2 separate regions of the Homo sapiens genome follow, and region 2 is linked to region 1. The links are contacts of gene promoters, found by promoter capture Hi-C in blood cells and fetal thymus (Javierre and others, 2016). All regions are on one chromosome and are shown on one strand. The core of a region is centred on a gene start or on the middle of the fragment in contact, and the rest is flanking DNA. Distances in the headings are between cores, read along the strand shown.

Region 1 (4,183 bases), core at 131-2,630:
AGATGTCCTTGGAGAACCCTTTAGAAAAAAAATCAGTTAAAAAAACACTTAGTAAAGATAATTGGTACTTCTTCCTTTAGCTAAAGGTTAGCGGGAATCACATTGCTGCTTAAAAGTTGTGACTTGAACCTAAATAATGTTCAATTACAAAGTCCATGCTTCCTTTAATCAAGTGTTCCTATTTTTTAAAAAAAGTACTTAAAGCAATTCGTTATTCTCATTTATTTATAATTCCATGACCACTGTCATCTCAAATACTTTTGTGTCTAATGTAGTAACTTTGCAGTAATTAAATACAAGCAGTGATGAAATCAAGTAATTATATTCAATTTTCCCTCGAAATTTTCACTTTTTTCAGGAGAAAACAATACTATAGTTTTAAAGTTTCTAGAACCTTTCTAGCTCATGAACATTTTCTTTACTCCTTAGCTCCAGGCTCAAAAGGGGTAGGGGGTTGGTGTAGAATACAGCAAGTTGGAAAACCACGTAGTTGCAAGTTGTAAACCACAGAAATCCCAGACATGCTAGAGATACTCTCTCTGTCTTTTGTATTTACTCTCACTAAAGGAATGGAAAACTTCCACTACCACCGATTTTCTTTTCAGGGAAGTTGGAGCAGAAGCCAGTGTAGCTCGAAAGAAAGATAAAAAAAAAAAAAAAAAAAAGAAAAAGAACTATTTCTTGAAACAAACTGGCAAGGCCTTTGGCAAACAGGAGGAAATGGAGAATTAGGAAAATCTGTGTACGGGTGGCAGTGTATTGGTTAAAAGCACGAGGGCTCGAAAACAGAACGTACGGCTCTGCCACTCTTTCGGATAATCTTCCGGAAGTCACTCAACTTCTCTAAGCCTCAGTTCGCTCATCTGCAAAATTGGGCTAACAATAGTACCTCAGAGAGGATTAGACAAAATAATCCACGTAAAGGGAATATTAGTACCGTGCCTGCCATAAAGTAAGAGCTCGGCAAACGCTGGCTATTATTATTACCTGGGGGTGGGTCTGCTGCTGCCCTGGGGAGTAGCCGAATTGCTGCTGGGACCCCGCGGGGGACCTGGAGTAGGAGCCAGGGTAGCCGCCAGGGGACGGAGACCCGAACCGGCCCCCCGGGAAGCTGCCGCCGTGTCGCGGAGAGTGACTGCTCCCGTACGGCCTAGACCGGGGCCCGTACGGCGGCGTGTGGTGCGGACTCCCGTACCCGTCTCGAGGGGAGGGCGGCCGTGGTCCGCCCCCGCCCGGGGTTCCCCGGAAGCTGCTTCCGCTACCCCAACCTCCTCCACCCGGACCAGGGTAAGGAGGAGTTGGGGGCCGAAAATTCTGTCGCTGCATATCAGGAGCCAAAGCCGAAAACCTCGCAGCCGCGTTCTCCCACCGGAACTGTATCAACCGGCCCTCCGCAGAGAACTGCTAGTCCTTTACCAAAACAGTCCTCCGACCGCAGCCACCCTACGGCACATCAGTTCCGGCGTCACAAAGGTTCCGCCAGGGGCGGCGGGATTACCTAAATCACTGACTTGGCGAGAGACTCAGTGGATTTAAGTGAAAAGAGGAAGAAAAGGAGACAGGAAAGGACGGACACCCAAGCCCAGCAACAACCTTTCCAGTCTGAGTGCCCTTGGTCTGACCGACAGACTAGAAGCTGGCCCAGCAGGCGACTAGTGCTCAGCCCCGCCCGGCGGGGGCGGGGTCTGCGGCGTCCGTGGGCGCCCCCCAGTGGCGGCGGGTGGCGCCGCACGGAGTTCGCCGCTTGCACCGGGACCGATGCCATCTGAGACGCACGCGATGCTGGCGACGCTGGCGAGGGTGGCAGCTCTGCGCAGAACCTGCCTCTTCTCCGGCCGGGGCGGCGGGAGGGGGCTGTGGACTGGCCGCCCGCAGTCAGGTACCCTCCGAGATTCGGTCTGGGTGGCTAAAGGGATCCCTGCCCCAGCTTGCCTCCTCGGGCGCCCTGAGGAGAGCAATTAGGGTCTGAAGTCTCTGCTGACCCCTTAGCGGTGGCTTTGCTCGCCTCCCTGCAACCCCGTTCCGTGGGCCTGCGGCCGGCCTGCCCCGCTCTGGCCGCCCAGGGTCGCCTCTGTCCCGTGCGTTGTTGTGACCGAGGGCTCCGTGCGCCGTGGGGTCCCGCTCCTGCGCGTCCCGCGGCTCGCGTTTGGGGCCTCTTTACTCCTGTCCTTTCGTCCGCCAAGTTTAAGTAACTTCGAAAATGCACACCAAGCCACATTTCAGAAAGGACTTTAGCCCGCTGCTTTGAATAACTTGACACTTCATGTACAATAAAAGATGCCCTTGTACAGTTACCTGTTGCAGAATTTTATTTAGAGGATGAAATTTAGCTTTACTACAGTGTTATAGAACTTTCTTTACTCCCTCTGAATTTGGGAATGGTAATCCACTATGAATCTTTTTTTTCCTTTTTTCTTTTTTTCTCTTTTTTTTGAGACGGAGTCTCGCTGTCTCGCCCAGGCTGGACTGCAGTGGCGCGATCTCGGCTCACTGCAACCTCCTCCTCCCGTGTTCAGGAGATTTTCCTGCTTCAGCCTTCCGAGTAGCTGGGATTATAGGCATGCGCCACCACGCCCAACTAATTTTTGTATTTTTAGTAGAGACGGGGTTTCGCCATATTGGCCAGGCTGGTCTCGAATTCCTGACCTCAAGTTATCCTCCCGCCTCGGCCTCCCAAAGTGTTGAGATTACAGACGTAATCTCTATGATTATGCGCGCGGCCCACTATGAATCTTGAAATTAGTTGCAGGATGCAGGATTTTTTTTTTTTTTTTTGAGACAGTCTCGCTCTGTCGCCCAGGCTGGAGTGCAGTGGCGCGATCTTGGTTCACCACAACCTCTGCCTCGCGGGTTCAAGCGATTCTCTTGCCTCAGCTTTCTAGAGTAGCCGAGATTACAGGCATGTGCCACATGCCCGGCTAATTTTTTTGTATTTTTAGTAAAGACGGGTTTCACCATGTTGGCCAGGCTGGTCTCAAATTCCTGGGCTCAAGTGATCCGCCTGCCTCTGCCTCCCGAAGTGCTGGGATTTCATGCGTGAGCCACCGCGCCTGGCGTAGGATACAGAATCTTAAAAGAGCTTTAGGACTCATTAAATCATAGCCTAACGGGTAGCCTGGACCTGTGATTTCCATTCACCCTCTTGTAGCTGCTACTCCTCGCTGTCTCTTTGACATGTTCTGTGACATCCCAAGCTGACGAGTGTGGTATCTTCTCAGCTTCTATCCTCCTTGATGAATGGAGACACACACAGACAGTTTTTTTGTTTGTTTATTCTGTGGAAATTCAATTCACTACATTTCGTTTCTTCTGTAGATACAAGTGATAGACTTAATCAAGGTAGCACGTTGCCATTAAGGCTTAGTGATACAATTAAGGTCGGAGGACTCCAGCCTATCCACTTTATTAAATACAGTAGTTCTGTCCTGGCCAAAAATTCACCTTTCTGGACATTGTCTTTAGTGTTTAACTTAATGCTTGGGAATTGCTCATTTGAATATTTATTGAATAAAATGACCTAGGTGGGACGATTGCTTGAGCCCAGGAGTTGAAGACCAGCCTGGGCAACATCGTGAAGCCCCATTTCTACCAAAAATACAAAAAAAATTAGCCGGGCTTGGTGGCGTGCGCCTGTAGTCCCAGTTGCTTGGGAGGCTGAGGTGGGATGGCTTGAGTCCTAGGAGGTTGAAGCTGCAGTGATCCGCTATTGTGCCACTGCACTCCAGCCTGGGTAACAGAGCGAGACCCTATCATGCCCCCCCACCCCACTGGAAAAAAAAAAGGTTCACATACATCACATAGGTAATTTTCACCTTTTAGATCATCAGCCAGTCTACTCAGGGGAGGGGGCAGAAAAGTGAGAGTGGTGGGGACCAAAATTAACTTTATTATTATTATTATGGACATGGGGTGGTCTCACTCTGTCACCGAGGCTGGAGTGCGGTGGTGAGATCACAGATCACTGCATCCTCGACCTCCTGGGCTCAAGTGATCTTCCCACGTCAGTCTCCCAAGTAGCTGGGAGTACAGGCTCATGCTACCATGCCTGGCTAATTTTTTTATTTCTTTATTTTTTGTAGAGACAGGGTCTTGCTGTGTTTCCCAGAACTCCCCACCTCAAGCATTCCTCTCTCCTGCCTTGGCCTCCCAAAACTCTGCAATTAAATGGTGTGGTGAGCCACCA
Region 2 (4,341 bases), core at 1,106-3,605, 2.8 Mb after region 1:
GTTTGAATGTCAACTCAGCTACTCACCGATGACCTTAGACAAGTTGTTTAATTTGTACAAGCTGCGGTTAGTTCATCTGTAAGAAGCTGAGATAACATTCATTATAGCAGTGGAAAGAGATGGAGCAGGTTAAGGTTAAGTTGCACCTAACAAAGTACTCAACAAGTTAGATCCCGCCTGCCTTCAGTTGTCAGGAGTACATTTTAAGTAAACTGGGCATTACTGATCCTTAAGAAAATGGGTAAGTCAGAAAACTTCCCCAGTCAATTTTTAAAAGTCTTCGGCGATGGTTTTCTCACGTTGAGAGCCATGGTTCGCCCCAACTGTATTTTGGAAAGTAAACTTATTATTCTAATCCCCTTTTCTACAATAGAAAAACCTACAATCTTGTTTAAAGTAAACATCCCCCTCCCCGACGTTCCCCCCAGTCCACCAAAAAAAGACCAAAACTCAAACTTGCCTCGTTGTTAGGGGTTCACAAAAAAGTGATAGGGGCTTTCGGTTTTTAGTCCTTATGTTTCTAATTCGTGCATCGAAGAAACCGAAAGCGGGAGGTTTTGAAAGACACTAGTGCCAAATGGAGACCAAGACTCCGACTTAACTGTAAAGCTGAGAGTTTTCCAAGAAAAGGGAACCCCACATATTTGACCAAGATTCCAAGTTTCAGAAACCACCGCATCAGGTCTACTTGAGCCAGGAAAAAAATCCTGAGTTCGGAACGGGCCACCCAGAGATGGTTAAGCTAAAACTGCCTTCTTTTCTGGTCTCCAAAGTGAAAGCGAATCCTTGGCTATGTGCCTCACCGTCCCGCAGCCCCATGTTAACCCCGCAAAACCGCATCCCCCCGACCCTCCAGCAGCCTCCGACCAAGGAAGCTCCAGGAATCCCGGGTCGGCCTGGCAAATGACTTTGCAAAGCCGCATTTCCAACTCCATTCCCTACTGGACCCTCCAGAAGCACCAATGCCGACGTCAGGATGGGAAAAACTAAATCGACAGAGTACCAGCAACCTCGACTACGCTGAAGACCTCGAGGGCCCCTTCCATACCTGAATGTAGTCAGCGAAAAGCTGTACCCGCGCTCCGCCATCTTTACCCGAAGAGCCAAAGCACAGCCGCACACATGCGCACTGTGGCCGATTTCCTTTCATTTCCCCGCCCCTCACCTTTCCTTTACTCTCTATGATTGGAGGAGAGTCAGAGCTGCTCCAAGAGCATGCGGGGTGTTGTAGTTCTAAGAAGCGAGGCTTGCCCGATTCTGTGCCTGTGCGCATGCTGAAAGCAGGGGCGGGACCGGGGCGGTCTTCCAGCAGGGAAAATGGCGCTGGCCATGCTGGTCTTGGTGGTTTCGCCGTGGTCTGCGGCCCGGGGAGTGCTTCGAAACTACTGGGAGCGACTGCTACGGAAGCTTCCGCAGAGCCGGCCGGGCTTTCCCAGTCCTCCGTGGGGTAGGTAAAGAAGGGCTCCGTGGGAGAGGGGGCTGATGACGGGACCTCGGGCAGCGTAGCAGACGCAGCTTACACAGTTCGCCCTCAGCCCCGGTTCTGATCCGCGGCCTCATGTCGGGGACGTAGTTCGTGACATTCCCATATTAGCGAGAACAGAACGACTGTTTTTGCGCTCCCTCCACCGCAAAAAAAAAAAAAAAAAAATTCCTCTGCTTGTTCCATTCGTACACAGAATGTAACCCAAGCTTGTGTCAAAGATAAATCATAGCCAGCCAGTAAGTAAAGCGCTGAAAACAGATTTTATTCAGTAACTACTGCAGGTAAAGAGCTGAGCTCCATCCCGGTTTGTGCAGAGGTGACTTTGGGCGTTTTAAAGGGAGAATGAGCGAGGCGGGAGTGTAGGGGCTCTGTAGAGTCAGAGAAGTGTAGTATAGTGAAGTCAGTGCAAATGTGATTAGCCGGCTGTGTCTGCTAGCTCGCAGTTGTCTTAGGGAGAATTCTATCCTCCCGCAGAGACTGGGAGACAAAGGCCCTATCCTTCCTAATGATTAGATTTCGAAGGAATGGCTCTCAGGGCCTTGAAAGAAAAGCTTCCGAGTTAGTTGCAAGGGATACGTATTTACAATTATATGCCCTTTCCAGGAAATGCTCTAAGGGAGTTCGGGACCTACTATCGGGGTATGTTGGCCAAAATAAATAGGAAATTTTCCAGGCAGCGTTGAGCTTTCTCAGGCAGGCACTTTAAAGGGGGGGCCGAGGTCATCCTAGGATACAGCCTTATGCTGCTAGAAACTATGCTAGAGTTTGGTCAAGTCTGTGGAGTTCAGGGATTTGTACAGAGTTGTCCTGAGAGGACAGTTCTGCAGGTCTCACTTGGCATCAAGGCTCACCACTCTCTGGATCTGTCTTTCCTTTCCAGCCCTGCCCTCACCTCCCCTCCCGCTTCCCCTCTCCCCCCTCTCCTCTTCCCTTCCCTTCCCTCCCTTCTTTCCTCCCTTCCTCCCTCCCTCCCGCGCAGTACATGTTTTCTGTGGTGTTTGAGCTCTGAGGAGCTGAATTCTGTTTCCCATGTTTCACTTGGAATTAATTTTAATTGGAAGTATCTTGGATGTTGAAACTGTCATGGCTTTGGCATTTACATTCTACTCAATTTCTAAGCAGCCTGAAAGTGATAATATCCAGAAATATACCAAGAAAATATATGCCACTATATGCCAAGCAATGTGCCAAGCTTTCTACATGTACTTCCTGGGATAATCTTGACAACAGTCCCATTAGGTGTATACACTTTCCAACTGAAACAGTAGGCTCACAATGGTCCCAAGTTCACAGACAGTCCTGAGCCTGTGTTGTTAATCACCGGGGCATGCTTGGCAATACTTGTGGACATACTGAAAATAAATGCCAGTTGTTAAGTGTTAGAGAACTTTGTGTATTTTTAAGAGTTCTTAAGATCAAAAGAAGTATGTGGGCTGGGCGCGGTGGCTCACACCTGTAATCTCAGCACTTTGGGAGGCCAAGGTGGGTCCATCACCTAAGGTCAGGAGTTCAAGACCAGCCTGGCCAACATTGTGAAACCCTGTCTCTACTAAAAATACAAAATTAACCAGGCGTGGTGGTGCACACCTGTAATCCCAGCTACTTGGGAGGCTGAGGCAGGAGAATCACTTGAACCAGGGAGGCGGAGGTTGCAGTGAGCCGAGGTCACGCCACTGCACTCTAGCCTGAGTGACAGAGTGAGACTCAGTCTCAAAAAAAAAAAAAAAAAGTATGGCACGTCTAAGAAATAGCAAGGAAAGGGTAAAGGAATGTTGATTTTATAAGCAATTCAGAAAAAGAGAAACTTTGATAGTCACATAAATAAGGCCATACAGAGAAATGGTGAGCTGGCTCTTTTCTTTAGAGAGCAGACAGGAATCAAGATTAAATGTTATGAGGAACTAAGTGACTTAAGAGGTTGTATCATAAAGGACCTGACTCAGTTTGAATATAAGAAAAGGCAATTGGCAGTTACATCAGTGCCGGTCAGAAGTGTATTCAGGAAATCTGTCTAGATTTACTTGTAAATTAATCAGGTACTTACTACCCGCCAAGTATTAATAGAATGTGGACAGTTGAGTGATTCTTTGCTTGTTTTGTTCAAGTTAGGTGCCTATCAGAGTCCTGTATTTTATGAGATAAGAAACTTGATGGAATTTCACTGATCTTCTTTTCAGCAGGATCCGCTAAGAAAAAATTCTGTGTTCCTTAAAATTGTATAAGCTTTAGTGTATTTTAATAGCTAAGGTTTCTCATTATTGAGTTTCACATTCTAAATTTTATATATAGTTTTTGTGTGTGTGTATGTTTGACCATTGATTGTTAAGGAAAATGATATCTGTAAATAGTAATTTAGAAGCTAGAAACTAATTCTGTATCTCTTATGTTTTATTTCCTAGGACCAGCATTAGCAGTACAGGGCCCAGCCATGTTTACAGAGCCAGCAAATGATACCAGTGGAAGTAAAGAGAATTCCAGCCTTTTGGACAGTATCTTTTGGATGGCAGCTCCCAAAAATAGACGCACCATTGAAGTTAACCGGTGTAGGAGAAGAAATCCGCAGAAGCTTATTAAAGTTAAGGTAATGCATTGATTTTTGTGGGTGTGCTTTTCCTCAAGTCCTCCATTGAATAAGCTCATGGTAGATTCCTATAGCCTAGGAATAAATTATTATCAGATTATATGTGTCTACTTTCCTCTGGCCTAAATGAAATACAGTATTCTCATTATATACATAATGAGAAGGCTAGAGCCTGCTGTCCTCTAGCCTGAGTATTAGAAACACAGTCAAGGAAGGAGTGAGTTTGGAGACTGGGCAAGGAACGAGGCTGTGAGGTGCCTACATGACTTCTGAA

What was found. Contacts are between HindIII fragments. The CHiCAGO score rates a contact against its expected background, and 5 or more counts as called.
Region 2: a contact is called between a fragment that was not itself captured here and the fragment with the promoter of MPLKIP in region 1, in 1 of 17 cell types (total B cells). The highest score is 6.4, in total B cells.

What each region holds. Positions count from the first base shown.
Region 1 is chr7:40,133,242-40,137,424 of GRCh38, forward strand. MPLKIP (M-phase specific PLK1 interacting protein) reads right to left here and starts at 1,381. Exons shown (of 2, transcript NM_138701.4): 1 at 988-1,381; 2 at 1-18. The coding sequence starts at 1,326. SUGCT (succinyl-CoA:glutarate-CoA transferase) reads left to right here and starts at 1,764. Exons shown (of 14, transcript NM_001193313.2): 1 at 1,764-1,879. The coding sequence starts at 1,780. RefSeq lists silencers at 1,107-1,176, 1,637-1,836 and an enhancer at 1,387-1,456. The HindIII fragment of the contact is 4,548 bases long and covers 1-4,183 here.
Region 2 is chr7:42,931,070-42,935,410 of GRCh38, forward strand. It overlaps MRPL32 (mitochondrial ribosomal protein L32), which reads left to right and starts at 1,307. Exons shown (of 3, transcript NM_031903.3): 1 at 1,307-1,447; 2 at 3,886-4,067. The coding sequence starts at 1,318. It overlaps PSMA2 (proteasome 20S subunit alpha 2), which reads right to left and starts at 1,105. Exons shown (of 8, transcript NM_002787.5): 1 at 1,049-1,105. The coding sequence starts at 1,089. RefSeq lists an enhancer at 1,256-1,485. The HindIII fragment of the contact is 641 bases long and covers 2,036-2,676 here.